Regions from separate parts of the Homo sapiens genome. Here region 1 is linked to region 2. Evidence: promoter capture Hi-C in 16 types of primary human blood cells and fetal thymus (Javierre and others, 2016). All regions are on one chromosome and are shown on one strand. The core of a region is centred on a gene start or on the middle of the fragment in contact, and the rest is flanking DNA. Distances in the headings are between cores, read along the strand shown.

Region 1 (6,038 bases), core at 3,449-5,948, 590 kb after region 2:
CCAGGCATGGTGGCTCATGCCTATAATCCCAGCAATTTGGGAGGCCAAGGCAGGTGGATCACCTGAGGTCAGGAGTTCAATACTAGCCTGGCCAACATGGTGAAACCCTGTCTTCACTAAAAATAAAAAAATTAGCCGGGCGTGGTGGCAGGTGCCTGTAATCCCAGCTACTCTGGAGGCTGAGGTAGGAGAATCGCTTGAACCCGGGCGGCGGAGGTTACACTGAGCCAAGATCGCACCTGTGCACTCCAGCCTGGGTGACACAGGGAGACTCTGTCTTGAAAAGAAAAAAAAAAAAAAAAAAGAATGAGTCTTCAATCACAGCCTGCCCCCTTTCCCAGGTGTCATCCTCTCCCTCACCAGGGCAGCTGCTTAAAGGCAATTTCTTTTTTCTTTTCTTTTCTTTTCTTTTCTTTTCTTTTCTTTTCTTTCTTTCTTTCTTTTTTTTCTTCCTTTCTCTTTCTTTCCTTCCCTCTCTCTCTCTCTCTCTTTTTTTTTTTTGATACAGAGTATTGCTCTGTCACCCAGATTGGAGTGCAGTGACGACATCTCAGCTCACTGTAATCTCTGCCTTCTGGGTTTAAGCAATTCTTGTGCCTCAGACTCCCGAGGAGCTGTAATTACAGGTGCATACCACCACACCTGGCTAATTTTTGTATTCTTTCGTAGAGATGGGGTTTCACCTTGTTGGCCAGGCTGGTTCTCAAAGTCCTGGCTTCAAGTGATCCACCCGCCTCACACTCCCAAAGTGCTGGGATTACAGGCATAAGCCACTGCACCCAGCCTGGTTAATGGCATTTAGTTTTTTCTTTCCTTCCTTGTAGTTTCCAGACTAGCTGATAAATTACCTAAAATGCTATCATAAATTGCACTATGTGGCCTTCACCCATTATATTCATGTTCTTGGGATTAGTGATATAAAGAATAATGTATAGCCAACCAATAGCTCATGTTCAATTTAGGAACCACCCCATTTTTTCCTTTGGAAACCCACTTGTAACTGCTGCTAATTGGAGCATATATTTCAGGGCAACTTGAACATACATTTCCGAAATTAAAGTACTCGAATTTGGCCCAAATACACTTTTGATTTATACTAATTTTACCTCAGTTTCATTCTTAAGGCTGACACCCTCCTCATGGATGGTACCATTTTTTGCATTCCCACCAGCAAAATATGAGTGCCTCTTTCCTCACCGCCTGGTAAACACATTATATTGTTGAACTTTGAGATTTTCTCCCAATCTGATAGTTGAAAAATGGCATCTCATTTTAGTTTAAATTTGCATTTATTTTACGGGTAGTACGATTCAACATTTTCATATATTTAAAGGTCCTTTATTTTCATTTTGTGTGTGTGTGTGAACTGCAAAGTGTTTGTATCTCTTGCCTATCTTCCATAGGATGGGTTTCCTTCCCTTCTCCATCTTTAGAAGCCCATCATATATTAGGAATATTTGCAGCAGTGTGCTAAAGCTGGCTAGTGCCAGCTTGCAAGTGCTGACTGTTAAATTTTTAGGAATTTTGCAGTCCCGCTGATGTAGCATTAGTGCAGCTGATATTACATTGGCAAGTTAACACTGGCTATGGTGGAGTATTTACTCTATGGAAATTGGCAAATGCGATAACATCCTCCTGACCCCCACTCCCGGGAAGAACACATTACTGGACATTAACCCATTGTCTATGACATAAATTGGAAATCATATTCCCGGTTTGTCATTTATCTTTTAATTTTGCTTATGATGTCTTTTGCTATGCAAAAATGTTATTGTTGTTTTGTATACCTCCAATTTTGGTCTTTTCCTGTATTGCATCTGGATTTTGAGTTAGAGTTAGAAAAGTGTTTCCAATTTCTTGATTATAGAAAATTTTCATCATATTTTCTTCTAGTATTTATATAGCTTTACTTCTTTCAAAAAATTAGATATTTGATCCATTGGAATTTATCTTAAGTGGAAAAACAGATATGATGGTGCTCTTGTTTGAACATGTCCTCCTAATTTCATGTGTTGGAAATGTAACTCCCAAATTTATAGATTGGTGGCATTTGGATGTGGGGCCTTTGGGAGATAATTAGGATTAGATAAAGTCATCAGGGTAGGGCCTCCATAATGGGACTGGTGGCTTTATAAGAAGACCAGAGACCTGAGAGGTTGACATGCTCTTGCTCTCTTGCCATGTGATGCACTCTGTCATATTATGATGTAGTAGGAAGGCCCTTACCAGATGCTGGCACCCTGCTCTTGGACTTCCCAGCCCCCAGAATCACGAGCTAAGTAAGCTTATTTTCTTTATAAATTACTCAGTCTGAGGTATTCTGTTATAGCAACGGAAAACAGACTAAGACAGATTGTATCTTCTTCCACTGGCTACCCATTTATGACAGGACTATTTATTAAGAAGGTCTTCTTTTTCTCTATTGATTTGAGATGGCATATTTACCACTTATTAGACTTCCAGATGTCATTAAGTTTATTTTTGGGTTTTCTTATTTTTTAAAATTTTTGGCTTTTCTATTCTGTTTTATTCATGTGCTGCCATGGGTTTGAACATTTGTCCCCATCAAAACTTACGTTGAAATTTATGCCATTGAGACAGTGTTGGGAGGTGGGATCTTTGGTTAAGTATTTGGCCCATGGGGCTCCACCCTCCTGAGTGGGTTTAGTGCCTTAATAAAGGGGCTTTCAGGCATGGTCTCTTTGTCTCTCTCTCCCTCTCTCTCTCTCTCCCACCAGATGCTAGCACCTGATCTTGGACTTCTCAGCCACCAGAACTGTGAGCCAATATGTTTCTTTTTCATTATAAGTTATCCAGTCTCAATATTTTGTTATAGCAGCACAGAATCCACCAGGGACTCATGTTGGGTCTACATTTAAAATATATGCAAGAAGAGGGCATCCGCAGAGGACAGCTGCCCGGCACAAGTGCCAGTCTGAGTGGAGTGAGGAAGATGTCTCCATGTAGACGGCAGTACAGTGTGGCTCAGGGTTTTGGAGTCTGCACAGAGTGAGTAGAATGCTCATAGCGATAAGCAGCCTGGCCTGTGATGTCAGAGCCCAGAAGTGGTGAGAAGGATGTCTGTGGAGGGGGTGGTCTGGTCCAGCATAGAGTATCAGAGCCCCAGCCAGATAAGAGTGTCCATATATCAGGCTGATGAGTGGTCGGTATGGAATTCTGTAACCCAAGTGGGGTGAGGAGGACATAGAATAAACTAAAATATGTGTCAATATTATTTTCTTATGGTACAGGCTTCCTCATTGTCCGTCTTTCTTAGGGCTTTCTCAGATATTCTTATTTATCTTTCCAAGTGAACGTCCTAATAAAATTGTCTTAGCTCTAAGGCGCCCTCTTCTGTTTCTTTTGCAAAGTGTTAAACAATATGACATTGTAGTATCTGAGTTCCACCTTCTCTGTTCTGTTCCTTGACTTTTGTCTAGACCTTATCTTTCTTTTTTCTCTAATATCCTTGTCTGGATAATTTGAATTCTACTCCCAGAAGTTTCTCCTCAGAGAAAGCATTTCCTATATGCATCCAGTACAATTTGAAATCACTAATTTAGCTGCTGAATAGTTATGGAATTTGGGGCAAAATTATCCTCATTTTTTAAATCTATAAATTGTAAATGAAATGTAATTTATTTCATAAGGGGTTTTTTTTGACAACTAGAAGTAATTTTCTTTTTTCTCTTTTTCCTTTTTTTTTTTTTTTTTTTGAGACAGTCTCATTCTGTCACCCAGGTTGGAGTAGAGTGGCACGATCTCAGCTCACTGCAACCTCCACCTGCCAGGTTCAAGCGATTCTCCTGCCCCAGCCTCCTGAGTAGCTGGGACTACAGGCAGGCGCCACCATGCCTGGCTAATTTTTTGTATTTTTAGTGGAGACAGGGTTTCACCATGCTGGCCAGGCTGGTCTCAAACTCCTGACCTTCTGATCTGCCCACTTCGGCCTCCCAAAGTACTGGGGTTACAGGCGTGAGCCACTGTGCCCAGCCTAGAAATAATTTTCAATCAGTTCTCAGTCCTACCTATCAGCAGAATTTGACTCATTTCATCATATTCTTCTTGAAACACATTCTTCAATTGACTTCCACGACACCATACTCACCCAATTTTCTTCTTAATTGGCCTCTCCCTCTCTTTCAGGTTTTTTCAATGTTTCTTCCATATCTTCCAACCTCAAAATGTTAGACAACCTCAGAACTCAGATTTCAGACCTCTCCTCTCTATCTAAAGTTGCTCCCTAGTGAGCTTGTACCATCTCAAAAATTTAAACATATTGACAACTCTCAAATTTATGTCTCCAGCCTGGACCTCTACCCTGTGGTCAAAATTTATACATCTGCCTCCTTCCTTATTTTCTCTGCCTGGATGTCCAACAGGTATCTCGAAGTTAACTTATTCCAAAACAACTCTAATATTTTCACCCAACCTGTTTCTCTTATAGTCTTCCCAATCTCAGCTAATGACAATTCTATTCTCCCAGTAGCTCAGGAGAAATCTCTTTTTTTCCCTCACTTTAATCCATCGAATCCACCAGGGACTCACGTTGGGTCTACATTTAAACTATATGCAAGAAGAGGGCATCTGCAGAGGAGAGCTGCCCAGCACAAGTGCCAGAGTCTGAGTGGAGTGAGGAAGATTTCTCCATGTAGACGGCAGTACAGTGTGGCTCAGGGTTTTGGAGTCTGCACAGAGTGAGTAGAATGCTCATAGTCATAAGCAGCCTGGCCTGTGATGTCAGAGCCCAGAAGTGGTGAGAAGGATGTCTTTGGAGGGCGTGGTCTGGTCCAGCATAGAGTGTCAGAGCCCCAGCCAGATAACAGCGTCCATATATCGGGCTGATGAATTGTCGGCATGGAATTCTGTAACCCAAGTGGGGTGAGGAGGACATCTGCATGGAGAAAGGGTAGGCAGTGGTGATAGAAGGTTGGGTATACACAGAGTGACTGATCATAAATGTGGATACATGAAGGACATGAGAGTCTGTTAGAGACACTAACTCAAAATCCAGAAGCAATGTGTTACTCTGTGTTAGGTAGATAAGAATAAAAGAAGACTGAATGTAGTGGTTCACACCTGTAATCCCAATATTTTAGAGGCTGAGGTGGGAGGATCCCTGGAGCCCAGGTATTTGAGACCAACCTGGCCAACATAGCAAGATCTTGTCTCTACTAAAAAAAATTAAAAATAAATAAATAAATAAAAATTAGTGGGGAGTGATGGCATGTGCCTGTAGTTCCAGCTACTTGGGAGGCTGAAGCAGTAGGATCAATTGAGCCCAGGAGGTTGAGGCTGCAGTGAGGTATGATCATGCCACTGCTCTCCAGCCTGGGTGACAGAGTAAGACTCTGTCTCTAAAAAATAAAATAAAATAAAATAAAAATTGGTGGCTTCAATATATGAGGAGAAGACAAGACTAGGATTGTAGTGAAGGATGGAAGGGAAAAAATGAAAATAAATCCTAGAATATTAGATCAGAAATGAAGGTATCAATGTAAACTCATGGCTTCAGTAATACATAGATAAACATAGAAATAAATGTAGATGTAAACGTGTGTGTAAATGAATACAAACATATTTACATATTCCTTAGCCCTGTCCTCTGAGAGGGCCTTAAAGCAGCAACACATTAATAGTAATGAGCACACTGAATGCACGGGCCTCAGTTTCTAAATTCCATATTCCACTAAAGGAAACCAGGGATTCTTGGAGAAATGGTTGATCTCAGCCATTTCAATGTGTTGCTGGGTCTAGGAAGTCCAAGATGAACCTGGACCTTCTTATGCCAGAAAGTAAAGAAGTGCACAAAGAGTAATGGGGACATGCCAAAAGGACACAGATGCTAGCTAACACGAAGGAGATTCCATTAGCCAAATCTTAAATGATTTGAACATCAAAATAAATAATAATGACAATGGCTTACAACCAATTTAATAAAATAAGAAACCATATAAATAAATGTAAGATAGTGAGTAAATTAAAAGTTTGATGAAAGATAAGGTATTTACAAAGTCTGAACTTCAACTACCCTCTTA
Region 2 (6,164 bases), core at 2,580-5,079:
TTCTTAGGCCTTTGCACCCTCATAGCTTAGCTCCCACTTATGAGTATGAACATATGATGTTTGAGTTTTCATTCCTGAGTTACTTTACTTAGATAATTGTCTCCAATTCCCACCAGGTTGCTGTGAATACCATTATTTTGTTCATTTTTATGGCTGCGTTTTATTCCATGGTATATATATATCACATTTTCTTTATCCACTTGTTGACTGATGGGCATTGGGGCTAGTTCCATATGTGGTTAATCTTTTAGTCTGTTCATGTGATATAGCACATTGACTGATTTGTGTATGTTAAACCAGCTGTTCATGCCAGGGATACATTCCCACCTGATAATGACATATAATCTTTCAATGTGTTGTTGAATTCGGTTTGCTAATATTTTATTGGGAATGTTTCCATCAATGTTCCTCAGAAATATTGGCCTGTAGGTCTCTTTTCTTGCTGCGTCTTTGTCTGACTTAGGTATCAAGGTAATATTGGCCTTATAAAATGTGTTAAAATGTATTCCCTCTGGCTCTATTTTTTGGAAGGGTTTGAGAAATATTGGCATTAATTCTTCTTTGAAAGTTTGGTATAATTCAGCTGTAAGGCCATCTTGTCCTGAGCTTTTATTTGTTGAGAGATTTTAAATCACTACTTCCATTTCTTTGTTAATTATCTGTTCAGGCTTTCTACAGCTTCCTGATTCAATGTTGGTAGTTCGTATTTTTCTAGGAATGTCTATATCTCCTCTAGATTACCAAATTTTTTGCATATAATTATTCATAACGAACTAGTGTTCGTTATGATCTTTTTTATTTCTGAGGTGTCTGTTCTACTGTCTCCAATTTTATTTTTGATTTTATATATTTGAGTACTCTCTTTTGTTTTCTTAGCCTAGTTAAGGGTTTGTCAGTTTTGCTTACTTAAAACGCTCTTAGGCTGGGTGCAGTGGCTCATGCCTGTAATCCCAGCACTTTGGGAGGCCGAGGAGGGTGGATTACATGAGGTCAGGAGTTTGAGACCAGCCTGTCCAACATGGCAAAGCCTCATCTCTACTAAAAATACAAAAATTAGCCAGACATGGTGTCTCGTGCCTGTAATTCCAATTACTCGGAGGCTGAGGCACAAGAATCGCTTGAACTCATGAGGTGGAGGTTGCAGTGAGCTGAGCTTGTGCCACTGCACTCCAGCCTCGATGATGGAGTGAGACTCTGTCTCAAAAAATAAAAACAAAAAACAACAAAAAAACTCTTAGTTGTATTGATTTTTCTGTTTCTTTTTTTGATTTTCATTATTTCTTTCCTTCTTCTAAAGTTGGGTTTAGTTTCATCTTTTTCTAGTTCCTTGAGCTGTAATGTTAGGCTACTTATTTGGGATCTTTTCTTCTTTTTTAATGTAGGCATTTATTGTTATTACATAAACTTCCCTTTTAAAACTGCTTTTGCTGCATCCCATAGGTCTTGGTATATTGTGTTTCCAATGTTATTTGTCTCAAGATATTCTGTAATTTCCTTTTTTTTGTTTCTGTTTTGACACATTTGTTGTTCAAGAGCATTTTGTTTAATGTCCGTATATTTTTCCTGTTATTGATTTAAGTTTCATACCATCTTGGTCAGGAACAATATTTGATGTGATTTTGATCTTAAATTTATTATGACTTGTTTTGTGCCCTACCAAATGGTCTATCCGGGAGAATGTGCACTAGAGAAAAATGCGGATTCTGCTGTTGGATAAAATGTTCTGCATGTATCTGTTACGGCCATTTTGTCTACAGTGCAATTCAGTTTCAATATTTCCGTATTAATTTTCTGTGTCTTTGATCTGTATGTTGTTGAGAGTGGAGTATTAAAGTCCTCTCTCATTACTGTAGAAGAATCCAGTAGACATGGGTTGGAACCCCACCTCCAGCATGTGACAGCTGTATGCATGGACATATTTGTTGTTTCTCCTTAAAAAGGTTTCCTTTTTGTTTAAAGGACATGAAATGCCTTTTAGTTGTGCCTGTAAAGACTGTGAATCTTGCATTTGCCTGTGATCCTTAGCAGTAGGGTAAGCCCACATCTGGCATATGTGCTGGCCAAAATTACCCTGAACAACTCTCAATCTGTTTCTTCTTTCTGTAAAATGGAAAAGTGGCCACTGTACTGGACAGTTTTAAGGACTCTGTAAAACCATGTAGGCAACATAAAATTTCAAAACATCCCTGGACACTTTGGGAGGCCGAGGCAGGTGGATCACCTGAGGTCAGGAGTTCGAGACCAGCCTATCCAACATGGTGAAACCCAGTCTCCACCAAAAATACAAAAATTAGCCGGGTGTGGTGGTACATGCCTGTAATCCCAGCTACTTGGGAGGCTGAGGCAAGAGAATCGCTTGAATCTGGGAGGTGGAGGTTGCAGTGAGCCGAAATTGCACCATTGCACTCCAGCCTGGGTGACAAGAGCCAAATTCTGTCTCAAAAAAATCACCCAAAAACAAACAAAAAACTCTGGAAATTTACATTTTTAATGAGCAATTAATTTGGAGTACAGCCTAGCACGTGGATTGTTTTTACAAGGACTGTTAACCCACGAAAATATTTTCAAACCTCAGTTTTGAGAGGCCTTTCTCAAACTGTGTGTTTTAGTGAAAATCCATTTAAAATCATTAATTGCCTCTAACCATCTCATAGCTTTGGTCAGGTATTTTTTGAAGAATTACACATTGCTTGGCATTTGACCAATGTTAAGTGGGCCTACTGAAATCACCAGCAATCTAGAAATTAGAATTACTTGATTCCATAGTTATGTTTGTAACTAAGAGATTGTTATTATTTTATTTCAAAGCTACCATAACGTCCTGCATGTCTCCAGTTTATCTGATGGAGCTGAACTAATCTGAGTATATTATGAACACAAGCAAGTAAGTTATTTTTAAAAATGAACCTATTTGTACTAAAAATTTACAGGTAGAAGGGTCGTCTACTAACCATATTATCTAGAACTGTGTGGATCTTTAAAATGCTAAATTAGGTGGTGGTAATAAAAAAAGAATCACCTCTAACCAGGTGCAGCAAACACAAAATACAGTAAACAAATGAACATATCCTTGTGCTGTAATTTGTTATCAAAATATTATTTCTGGGAATGTGGGATGTCCACTGCTTTTTTTCCCCTTCTTCTTTCTCTTCTTCTTTTCTCTCTCTCTTTCTCTCTCTCTGTGTGTGTGGTGTGTTCTCCAGTCTCCAGAGACATAGACTAGAATTTTAAATTAAAATATTTAGACAACTAGTTACAATCAAACTTCTCCCACAGGAGTGGAAGGAAAGTCCAATGGAGAAATTGTTTTGTAAATTAAAGACATTACTGCACAAGCCTAAAATGATGTTACTGGGGATTTTAATCTTTTTACCTGGATTCAGATTAAAAGTCATCAGTTTTCCCTCTCATCAACAATTTATTCATTCATCCATTATATTTTTATGGATTGATATGCCCAACATTATACTAATTAATCCAATTTATAAGGTAATCTATAATCCTATTTAGGTTAGAAGGGTTTTTGGCAAATGTTCACTCTGGAAAACTGGGTTGTAAGAATATTGGCGATCTCAATTTTATTTCTGTGTATGTAAAAAGAAAGGCTTCATATCTAAAATAACTTTACCTAAGTATACAAAGTTGTTTCAGGGTAACAAAAGAGCGAAAAACAAAACTGTAAAAGGGCCAAGGACAGAGGAATGGGCAAATGAAGGAAGGGCGGAGAGGCAGAACAAGAGCTGAAGGAGAAAATTCTGTGGAGGGGTGTGGGAAAGGGGTGGAGCTGGCAACCTTGCCTTAAAAGCTGAGTGATAGCCCATACTAAAGACTGGTTGAGCCGGGTAGGGAAAGCAGCCTAAAGCCCGGGACAGGCACACAGGCCCAGGTGTGTAGGCCACAGCAGCCGCAGTCCTGAAAGGCTGCAACACCCAGACCTCCAGGAGAGACCAGGCCCAGGATGCCTCGCCTGTTCTTGTTCCACCTGCTAGAATTCTGTTTACTACTGAACCAATTTTCCAGAGCAGTCGCGGCCAAATGGAAGGACGATGTTATTAAATTATGCGGCCGCGAATTAGTTCGCGCGCAGATTGCCATTTGCGGCATGAGCACCTGGAGCAAAAGGTCTCTGAGCCAGGAAGATGCTCCTCAGACACCTAGACCAGTGGCAGGTGAGAGCTCCCGCCCCCTCCCGGCCTTCCCGCGCTTCCCATTGGTTACTCTGGGGCGGCCGCCCAATTGGAACGGCGGCCTGCACGTCCGACTCGAGATCTCATTGGCTGCCACCGCTCAGCCCCTACTCAGCCGTGGCTGGTCCCTAAAGTTTGGGCTTTTCCTTTGCCAGGTGATTTTATTCAAACAGTCTCACTGGGAATCTCACCGGACGGAGGGAAAGCACTGAGAACAGGAAGCTGCTTCACCCGAGAGTTCCTTGGTGCCCTTTCCGTAAGGCAGTCAGAGCGACGGGGTGGAAAGGGAGGGGAAGCCTCAGAGGAGGTGACGCCGCCCGGAGACCCGCAGGAGGCCGGGCGCACTCCTGCACCCCACAGGAAAGCCAGGCGGCCAGACAGCGGGCGTGCTGGTGGGGGCACCTGAACAGGGCTTCTCGGATAGAGAGGAGAGGGGACAAACACTGAGGCGGCGCGCTAGTTATCAAGCCTGTTTGCGCGCCTGTAGGACGGGGCAACACTCTGAGGTCTCTGTGAGGGTCCCGTGATGGGAAGACAGGAAGGGCCTTACACTTAATGACTCTCCTAGTCCAGAAGTTGGGCTGTGGCCTTTGCCATTGGAAACGTTCTTTAAAATAAACAAACAGAAAATCCCAAAGGAAAGAGTCTGACCTCCCGCTTCTTTGATCTGGGTATTGAAGTTCATTTGTGAGGCAGGGGATGGAAGAGAAAGGAAAGGCTTGAATGCCTTTAGGAGAAACTCAAGAGGACCAGAGACAAGGAAAGCAGGCCGTTCAGACCATCATAGCTGAAGACCCTACTGATGCTTTCAAGCATTTGGAAGCTGCAGTGGGTTTGCTTTAAAGGCAAGCTCTTAGAGTTGAGTACAGCTCAATCTGAAATGGCTTTTAAAAATATTTTAGTATTTATAAAGTAGCAGTGGAAACTCATGGAGGTATATACTAGTCTAAGAAGTGTAACGGGTCATATTAAATTCAGAGAAAGTAACCGCAGTTGCAAATACTAAGTGTTTTGTATTAGTATGACATGTAATTTATGATAAACCGCAACTAAATTTTATAGGCTATATGCATATACTATATATAAATGACTCTAACAGAAATACATTTACTTCTCTTTTATGAGATTTAAAGTATGCTTCTAAAGTTATTTACTTTTCTACATTGTTAGAGTTTGATTTATTTAATGGCAGTTTTTACATGACTTTTGTATAACATTAGTACAAAAATACCACAACGTCTAGGAATTTAGTGATAAAAAGTAGAGAAGACCGGATTGCATTGCATTTGCTTTATTATTCCACATTTTCTGACTATAAAAGTAGTAATGCTCATATTAAAGACAAATGTACATTAATGCAGCGTGAAAAATGAGAAGCACTCGTAGATATTAAGGACTTTGAAAAGTATATGTGAATTTTATGAGAAAATGAAATTATATTAAACAAGTAAGTGGAAAGAAATGTTAACATTTGGATAGGTATATGTATATATCTTTTGCATTTTCACTCACCATTATACTTTGAGCAGTTTCTCACATTGTTATTATCCCAAAACATAATTTGAAATTCCTGTGTAGTATTTTTGTCATAAATCTGCCACATAAACTTAAAGATTCTTTGGTGGATATTTAGTTTATTTCTAAATTGTTGCTGAAAATCATTAATCACATTTGTATATAGATATTTAGCTACACTTTTATTTCTTTAGAAGAGACATGAGATTTCAAAGTATTTTTAAAGAATTTTCTTTATTGCTATGCAGTATAATTTAACTGAAAGTAACCTCAGAAAATATTGCCTGCACGTGGGATTAAGATAAATGTTTACCGTTACTAGGTAGGAATCGCTTTGGAAGTACATGTCAGTAATTTGTGATTAATATGAGTTTTCAGACTTATACTGTTAGGTAATTGCTACTTGCTTTCACGTTATTACACTGTTAGATAACCATTTTATCTTACAATGTGTGCCAAAGT

The links. Contacts are between HindIII fragments. The CHiCAGO score rates a contact against its expected background, and 5 or more counts as called.
Region 1: a fragment that was not itself captured here is called in contact with the fragment with the promoter of RLN1 in region 2 in 1 of 17 cell types (erythroblasts); the score reaches 5.6 in erythroblasts.

The regions. Positions count from the first base shown.
Region 1 is chr9:4,747,535-4,753,572 of GRCh38, reverse strand. No RefSeq gene overlaps it. Among named protein-coding and RNA genes, the nearest start is that of AK3, 9.4 kb to the right of the region's middle. The HindIII fragment of the contact is 4,823 bases long and covers 2,287-6,038 here.
Region 2 is chr9:5,337,541-5,343,704 of GRCh38, reverse strand. RLN1 (relaxin 1) reads left to right here and starts at 3,829. Exons shown (of 2, transcript NM_006911.4): 1 at 3,829-4,169. The coding sequence starts at 3,959. It also overlaps a transcript of RLN2 not described here. The HindIII fragment of the contact is 10,294 bases long and covers 1-6,164 here.